3 separate regions of the Homo sapiens genome follow, and regions 1 and 2 are each linked to region 3. Evidence: promoter capture Hi-C in 16 types of primary human blood cells and fetal thymus (Javierre and others, 2016). All regions are on one chromosome and are shown on one strand. The core of a region is centred on a gene start or on the middle of the fragment in contact, and the rest is flanking DNA. Distances in the headings are between cores, read along the strand shown. Region 1 has its middle 12 kb from the start of HSPA13. Region 2 has its middle 56 kb from the start of HSPA13. Region 3 holds the start of SAMSN1-AS1 (SAMSN1 antisense RNA 1).

Evidence for each region. The method cuts DNA at HindIII sites, captures the fragments that hold promoters and counts their contacts. A CHiCAGO score of 5 or more calls a contact.
Region 1: a contact is called between a fragment that was not itself captured here and the fragment with the promoter of SAMSN1-AS1 in region 3, in 1 of 17 cell types (neutrophils). The highest score is 5.3, in neutrophils.
Region 2: a fragment that was not itself captured here is called in contact with the fragment with the promoter of SAMSN1-AS1 in region 3 in 1 of 17 cell types (activated CD4 T cells); the score reaches 5.3 in activated CD4 T cells.

What each region holds. Positions count from the first base shown.
Region 1 is chr21:14,393,657-14,396,720 of GRCh38, forward strand. No RefSeq gene overlaps it. Among named protein-coding and RNA genes, the nearest start is that of HSPA13, 12 kb to the left of the region's middle. The HindIII fragment of the contact is 2,244 bases long and covers 581-2,824 here.
Region 2 is chr21:14,437,902-14,440,659 of GRCh38, forward strand. No RefSeq gene overlaps it. Among named protein-coding and RNA genes, the nearest start is that of HSPA13, 56 kb to the left of the region's middle. The HindIII fragment of the contact is 1,372 bases long and covers 646-2,017 here.
Region 3 is chr21:14,580,671-14,583,604 of GRCh38, forward strand. It overlaps SAMSN1-AS1 (SAMSN1 antisense RNA 1), which reads left to right and starts at 1,532. Exons shown (of 5, transcript NR_046512.2): 1 at 1,532-1,621. It also overlaps a transcript of SAMSN1 not described here. The HindIII fragment of the contact is 2,204 bases long and covers 1-1,624 here.

The sequences.
Region 1 (3,064 bases), core at 453-2,952, 190 kb before region 3:
GATACATGGAAATTATATGTTGTTGAATGAGTGATTGAGTAAATGTGTACTAGGGCAGCTAATCATAAATATTTCTACTATTGCTAAAATGACTGGATTTATCCATTCCTTCTGAGAGTTTATACTGATTGCTTATATTGTATCAAATACCGTAACTGAGGGCAATGTTTACTCAAACTAATAGCACCATTCAAATTTATGCAAACAATAACACTATATCTTTAAAATGTTTTCACTAAAAGCTGCATAAAGAGTGTATTCAACAACAATAGAATAATTTTACAATCTTTTTTCTTGCTTAATGGCCATTTGTGCCTTCTGACATGCTGCTAGCCATTCAAAGGTCACACTACCTTGAAGTTGAAGATCAAGACAAATGATTAGACTCATAAAAGACAAATCACGTCTTTCTGGACAGGTGATTATTAATAATTAATTAGCATTTAAACATGTATTATTTAAGTTCTTTTTAAGTTATAAAGTCTTTGATTTGCTAAACAGTTTAAATAATGAATAAAACATAAAATAATAATAGTTACCATTTATTTAATTCCATAATAACTGATTTGTATGTATTATAAGCTTTCTTTCTGAAAGCAGAGTTTGGAGGTGGGTTCATAACTTTCTACAAACAGAAAACTGAGATTTAGAGGGTTAGCTAGGGAAGAATTTAAAATTAGATCCGTCTTATTAAAAAAACAATCTATGTTCTTGTCTTAGTCAGCTTGGGCCTCCATAACAAAATACAATGGACTGTTGGCTTCAAAAACTGAAACTTATTTTCTCACAGTTTTGGTGGCTGGTGGGTCAGAGATCAAGGTGTTGGCCAAATGTGTTTTTTTTTTTTTTTTTGAGGATTCTCTTCCTGGCTCACAAATGGCTGCTTTCCTTGTCATTGATGACTTGATACAGAGGGGGAGAGGGAGAGAGAGAGAGAGCAAAGTGTGTGTTTGTGTGTGTGTCTCTGTGTGTGTTTATATTAGAGAGAGAGAGAGACAGAGATCTTACACTTTTTATAAGGTCACAGTCTTGTGGTATTAGTACCTCATTTTTATGACCTCATTTAACCTTAATTACCTCCTAGAGCCTTTATCGCCAGATACAGTCACATTTCACATCGAAGGTTTGGGCTTCGACATATAAATTCTGTGGGATACAATTCAGTCCATAGCAATTCTGAAGCACTATAATATACTCTTTTAATTTTTAAATAAAGATGGAATTATTTAATATGTTATCTTTCAGTTGCCTTCTGGGTGTGATTTACATTGTGACTTATATATAATACTAACTCCCTGAAAAACTCTCTGACACATAATATCTGTTGAATTAAGGAGTGAATCCCATCCCTAAAAAGAACAAGTTTATGATAATGCAGATGTGTGTTCTTGTATGATTTTCATTTTTTTTTTTTTTGGTCTCCAAAGTATATATTATGCACTATTTCCAATGCAAATGATACCCTTTAAGTTTTCTTTCTAGCAACTCTAGAATTCGGAGAATAAGCCTAAACTCAGCTTTGGTTTCCTAGACTTAATTATGTCTTAAATATGAGACTTCAGTAGTCTAATTCTCTTTTCATCTTCATTGTTTCTCACTCCACCAAAACAATATTTAGCCTCAGCAAGATCTTTAGATTTTGGATATGACTTTAGAATATATAAATAAATACTATTCCAATGGCTAAAATTATTTTTCAAAGCTGGACTAGTACAGAATTACAATGGATTATAGAATATGGAAATGTATCAGCTTTCAGGTGGTTTTCTCTTTTCAACAAAGAAAGCCTTAATAAAAATGGTATTTTCAAAGAACTTACTTAGTTTTTCTGAACACAATGCTATGGCCTTACATTTTTGCCTGATATGATGAAATTCAATAACATCACAAAATAAAAGAGTTTTCTAGACTCACCTCCATACAGGTTGGAGACAAAGGAAAGAAGGGAAATTATGTCAAGATGTTCACGTCTTTTTGTCCTAATCAAATGATCTGATTCAAATGTTTTTACAGTAACATATCTGACATTTTGGTAATAGGTGTTGAAGTGCTTGCCTAAATTTAGATCAAATTAACTATACTATATACAGCAATATTCTTTTGATTCAAATTGGGAGGAAACCCACGAACTTGAAACAGAATAGGATCTGTTGCCTAGTACAGCAGAAAGAATTCTGAGTGAGCTATTAGAAAAGAGTTCCAGGGTCAGTTGTGTGACATTGATTACATGACTCTTACATGTAAACATTGATAACATGACACTGATAACATCTCTTTAGCAGATATGGCCTTGGATATTCCTTTCTTTCTTTGAAAATGTAATTTCATTCCTCCCTCCTTTCTCCCTCTTCCTTTTCCTGCCTTCCTTTCCTCCACAAATAGTTGTACAACTACCATTTCTTAGGCACTGTGAATACAGTAAGGAACCAGAACGATAGGATTCCTGAGCTCAGGGAGCTTATAGCCCAATCAGAGGAGCCCAGACCTTTAACAACTAGTTGCCAAAATAATGATGTGATTTTAAGTATGATAACTGCTTCAAAGAAAAGATTTACATTGGTGGAAAGGGGGCTTTTGTGTATGATTTTATGTTTTTGTGTATACACCTTTACTCTCATGTATTAAAGGGAAGTCCTTCCATCTTTTTTTTTTTTTCCTGTAAAGAGAGAGAGATTTAATTGGTAATGGGCCAAAATTTTAATAAAGAAAATAATACTTGTAATGCAGTCTACAGCTAATGTTAACCTTTTAAATCTATTTTTAGTAAAATTCGTTTTCTCTTTTCCTAAAAAAATTCTTTTGCCAGATTCTAGGGATAGGCATAAGCTTATTTCAGTGCCATCTACTTTAAGAATTTCAAATGTTAGCAATGACTTATTTTATTTACGAAGATGATGAGCTCAGAGGACTAGGTGAAATATATGAGGCCTAGGTTTCTCTTTTTTGTAAAGTGATTTTTTCCCTTGAATTTTAGGCCAGCTAAAAACATTTTCTTTATATAGCTCATTGTAAACAATGTAAACACAGCAGTGTGTAAAGTTAGAAAACAACTCCTTTCAAACAA
Region 2 (2,758 bases), core at 82-2,581, 140 kb before region 3:
TTCATAATTGTATTTAAGTTTCATATGATGCCTAAAATTAATTTTATGAGAGACAAAAATATTTTAAACAATTAGAAACAAGGCTTAAATGAAAATTCCTCAAACTCTTAAAATGATTGAATGTATTCACACTAAAGAGTGAATGATTAATATAAAAATCCATCTTTGAAATGATGGCAGAAGGAGAGAAAGACCACTGGACTCCTGATGGGTAGTAGGGTGACAATACCTAATATTCAGATTTGAGATGGCACAAAGATGTTTAAGGAAACCAAGACTTTCTCTCTCTCTTTCTCTTCTTTTTTAAACCACAAACACCTTTGGATAAGTAAAAGCTTTTTCGCAGATATATGACATTTTACATGGGCCATGTCCCAAATGTTCTGTCTCAAAGTACACAGAAAATGACTTAAAAGGGGCATGGGAGCCAGATTCCCTGTGGACAGTAATTCTAATTCTGAAGAACACATGCAGTTGCTCAACAACGCTGCTGGATTGAGAAATGAGGTCTTGAGAATTACCAAAGAAGTGCTTTCAAGATAATAAAGCTTTGCAGTGTTCCATCGCCTGCAGAGGAACAGCAGGACAGACGGTTTTTCCCTCTAAAAGGGCTAAACTTCTGAAACCTTACAATGATGGAACTGAAGCTTTGGAGTTGTTTTAAGTAAATACAGAAAAAAAAAAAAAAAAAATTCTGTCACAGTTCACATCACTTCAGGATTGACATTACCTGCTTTTATTTATTTTTTACTTCGTTTTGGTGATGCTGGTAGAATAGATGTCACTTGAGAGGTCAAGTCTTCAAAACAGGAGGAAAGCAGAGAGGTGAAGCAACTATGTGGAAAATTCAGGGAGATTTGCTGCTCATGCGTACATTAGCCTAGACATTTCTTTGAAGAAGCTGCTAGGTTAAGGAAATGCCAGTGTTAAGAAACTGCTTTTGAAATAACTTTTTGAAATAATGCATTGCTTACGTGGGATTCTTTCACCTCCAGAGTTTTTATGACTAGTGGATCCCTTATTATTTGTCATTTTATGAAAGAATTTCAATAACTGCACATTAGCTGTTTATCTAAACTTCCAACCTTTTCTTTTTAGCTTTTGGCCAGGCCTTTTCCAGTATTTACTTATTTTATGGAAAAACCAAACTTTATCACTAGACACAAAATTTAAGTGAGCGTTGTCTGTCCCTTGAGCTCACCCACCTTTCTCATCAGCCCTGCTCTTGGTGATCCTCTTGCCTCAGTCCGCTTTGGCCCCTACATCCTGGCACCAGTGTCATCATGGGTGCTCTTCTCAAATAGCTTTATTGTATTCTCTCTCTCAGTAAAGATACAGGAAATGGTGGCATTCTTTTTTTTTTGAGATGAAGTCTGGCTCTGTCTCCCAGGCTGGAGTGCAGTGGCGCGATCTCGCTCACTGCAAGCTCCGCCTTCCGGGTTCACGCCATTCTCCTGCCTCAGCCTCCCGAGTAGCTGGGACTACAGGTGCCCGCCACCATGCCTGGCCAATTTTTTGTATTTTTATTAGAGAGAGGGTTTCACCGTGTTAGCCAGGATGGTCTGGATCTCCTGACCTCGTGATCCGCCCGCCTTGGCCTCCCAAAGTGCTGGGATTACAGGCATGAGCTACCACCACGCCTGGTCTGTTTTCACATTTACATTTTAAGTGATCTGTCATTTATTACGGTACAATTGTGAAACAAGGATCCAACTATTCTTTTTCATTTGACAACTAATTGTCTCAGTACTATTTGTTGGATAAAATATTCTTTCCCCACTGAAATGAAATGCCAGATTTATCATTTGTACATTCTAATATGTACCTGCATTATTTTATGAGCTTTATTTAGGTCAAGCGATCTATTTCTCTGTTGTTGTATCTGTACTATACTTTATAGTTAAAACAAAGAAATACATTTAAATTCCTGGAAGGCCACAAACCTCATTATTATTTTCAAAAATTTTGTAGCTTTTGTGCTCACTGGTCAGATTTCAAAAGGAAAAAAAAAGAGTCAAGCTTCTACTTGGAATACTTTAAAATTTATCTAATAATTGGAATGTATCTTACTGGGATTGTATTTTCAATTGGGAAAAGGATATGCCTCTTCCTATTCCTTTCTTGTTAAATTTATACCTAGGTATTATCAAATTTTGTTACTAATGTGAATTAGATTTTTCTCTCTTTTTTCCCTTTTGTATGTTACTTTTACTTATAGAGAAAAACTATTGATATTTGTAAATTTTCTTATATACAGCAACTTTATAGAACTTATTAGCTCTAAAATTATTTTAGTTATTTATTTTGGATTACAAGGGCATATAATTACATTATCTGCAAATGATAATAGCTTTATCTCTTCTTTTTCAAAATATAGTCAGTTAGTGAATGCATTTCCAAAATTTGTTTCATGAGCTAAACTCTATATACTATTGGTGACAGTCGTACCTGTCTGGCTCCTGACTTTATTGGAACGCTTTTAGTATACCACCTTTTAATATTTCCAGTTTCTGATAAATATATTTTTGATGTTTCAGAAATTGTCTTTATTATTATTATTATTGTTATTATTTTGAGATGGAGTCTTGCTCTGTTGCCCAGGCTGGAGTGCAGTGGCACAATCTCGGCTCACTGCAACCTCTGCCTCCAGGGTTCGAGCAATTCTCCCTGCCTCAGCCTCCCGAGTAGCTGAGATGACAGACACCTGTCACCACACCTGGCTAAATTTTTGTATATTTAGTAGAGATGAGGTTCTGCC
Region 3 (2,934 bases), core at 282-2,781:
CTTTGAACACAAGTTACTTTAATTCTAGTCTTTGCAGACTTAATGCACAAATCTTAAAAGGCAAAAAAAGTTCCAAGAGAAAATATGCCTTTTAAGAGACCTCTAAATATGTTATAAAATGTAGCTTCTGTCTAAGAAGAGACTGATTCTTTGAGGAAAATGGTAGAGAGTAGGCTCCCTGGATACACAGAATTGTCCCATTCATTCACTGAAAACACACATGACCAGAGGAGCTGTAGGTAAAGTTATAAAACATGCCTTGAGCAATTTACAAGGAAATTGAAAAAAAAGTACCACTCTTAAGTACTAGAAGATTTATAATATTTGACTTTAGCTTCTTGACTATTTCCATTTTTTAGTTAAGAAAGTTAAGATTAAAAGGTTTAAATAACTTATCCAAGCCCAAAAAAAAAGTAGCACAGCCAGAATCCATCCAAATTTGTTTGACTCCAGAGAGCATACTCTTTCTCACGTATCACATAATAGCCTTAGAGTCTGCCCTCGTATATGGAAAACACTCTAATGTAGTAGCTAAAAGCAGGAGCTCTAGCTAAAAGCAAGACCTAGGTTATAGGTCTTGGCTCTACCTCCTGTTAGCTGTCTGACTTTGCACCTGTTACCAACTTTTTGTGCCTCCATTTTCTCAACTGTAAAATGAGGGGAAATAATATTTCTTTTTTTTTTTTTTTTTTTTTTTTTTTTTTTTGAGGACGAGTCTTGCTCAGTCGCCCAGGCTGGAGGGCAGTGGCGCGATCTCGGCTCACTGCAAGCTCCACCTCCTGGGTTCACGCCATTCTTCCGCCTCAGCCTCCCGAGTAGCTGGAACTACAGGTGCCCGCCACCACGCCCGGCTAATTTTTTTGTATTTTTAGTAGAGACGGGGTTTCACCTTGTTAGCCAGGATGGTCTCGATCTCCTGACCTCATGATCCTCCCGCCTCGGCCTCCCAAAAGTGCTGGGATTACAGGCATGAGCCACCGTGCCTGGCCAAAAATAATATTTCTTAAGGTAATATTTCATAATGTAAGTCCTTACCTTATAGAGTTGATGTGAGATTTAAATGAGATAATACATATAAAATGCTTAGGAAAATGGCAGGCCCAAATAAAATGCTCATTAAAATTAGCTATTATTTTTCAGTGAAATTTCATTATAATTGCAATAATTTAGACAGTTCACTTCACATTTTCTTGATCTCAGTCAACACACGAAGTCTTCCTTCAATCAAAAAGAAATCCCTGGAAAAATTTTATGCAGTCATTAATTTGTACACAAAGGAATATATGAAATGTTAATATGGGTAAAAGTCACAAGAGTTTGGTTGCTTTTTGGAAAGACAACTCTTGCTCTGGTAACTTTTCTGAAACTGATAAATTTCACTGATTAGCACTTTTGCTATCTGTTTCTTTCCCGACAGTACAAAACCCCAGATAAGATGACACATTTCCGTAGTCTGCAAACTTACCCATGAATGTAGGAGATCCATATCTGAGCAGGAAGACTTGAGACGTGTGTGGCGAATACAAGAGGAGCAGTGGTCCCAGGGTCCAACTTGTGCTATTTGGAAATCAAGACATGTCCAGAGAGGGTTTTCAGGAAAAGGCTTCCAGTGATGCCACATGTAAGCTTCACCTTCATACCAAGCTAATTTATCTTCCAAGTTGCAGTTATTTAAAGTGCTGGATCTACCCAGTGATGCAGAAAGAGTATCCAATCTAATCTCCATTTCTTCCTTCCTCCTCGTGCTAACACTATTCACTTTCTTTTCTCGGGACTTGGTTAATTTCAAACAAGAAATCAACGTGTCATCTTCATCTTCTGAATGACAAAGAAATAGGTTAAAAACTATGATTATAATTCTTCACATATAGGAATTATTCTTCCATTTATATAAGAGAAATAAATACACTGCAATGGATAAACCAAGAAGTCATTCAATTTTATAAAATTATTTACAGCAGCATTTATTTAAAAAGCAAGTTATTTTGCTATATAAAATTTTTTGTTTTGTAAAAGTCGCATTTTTCTGACATTTTTGAAACCATAACAATTGATTAAATTCTATCTCACTGGAAAGAATGGAGGCCACATACAAATAATATGCTGAAAGATATTTGAGAAAAAAATACAATTAAAAAACCCACCTCTTATGTTTCTATTCTTAAATATTTTTTTAATTTTTAAGGTCATGTGTATAATAAAGAATTATAAGGAAATAAATAAAATTATTTGCCCTACTTAAAAGAATAAAATCTCAGTGGTTTGGACTGAAATCCTACTGACATTCTGAAATTGTCTATTTTAATATCAATCTACCAAGAGATGTATGGATGCAGTGTGTCTCACAGTGAAATGGTTTTCAAAAAACAAGAACGACAAAAATTTAAAAAAGCCATATCTGTAATACCATAAAGTTCATTTGTGAGATCTATATTTACACAATGTGGCAAAGACTCTGATGAAATTTCTAGTAATGTAGAAAACAGTTACAGAAAATAGAAATATATATCACCCAGAGTCAATTGCTCTATGTCATGGAATCCCTTTAAATCCAAACGTTTAATGGGTATTTTTAAAAGAGTTCGATTACTTAAGGCATGCTATTATAAATAAATAAATGAAAATCAAAGTTGCATGCCATGGACATACCAATTTGTTATGCTTACATCAAAATTCAAATACATTGTTTTCTATGGCCAAGGAATGGCGACAGTGGACACTGCTGAGCTTCCTCCATTGCTCTCTCTCACTGTGTCTCGGAGCCCGGTCTTGAAGGCAAGGAGAAACGGGGCGGTGCATAAATACGGGGTAAAATTCAGGAACAGATGGGGATGTCTGTTTTAAAATAACTTGGCAATAAAAAAAAATCCTCAATGTTTAATGATTATCTTAAGACTTTATCAAAATGGGCTTCATTAACGTATGCTTCCTTAG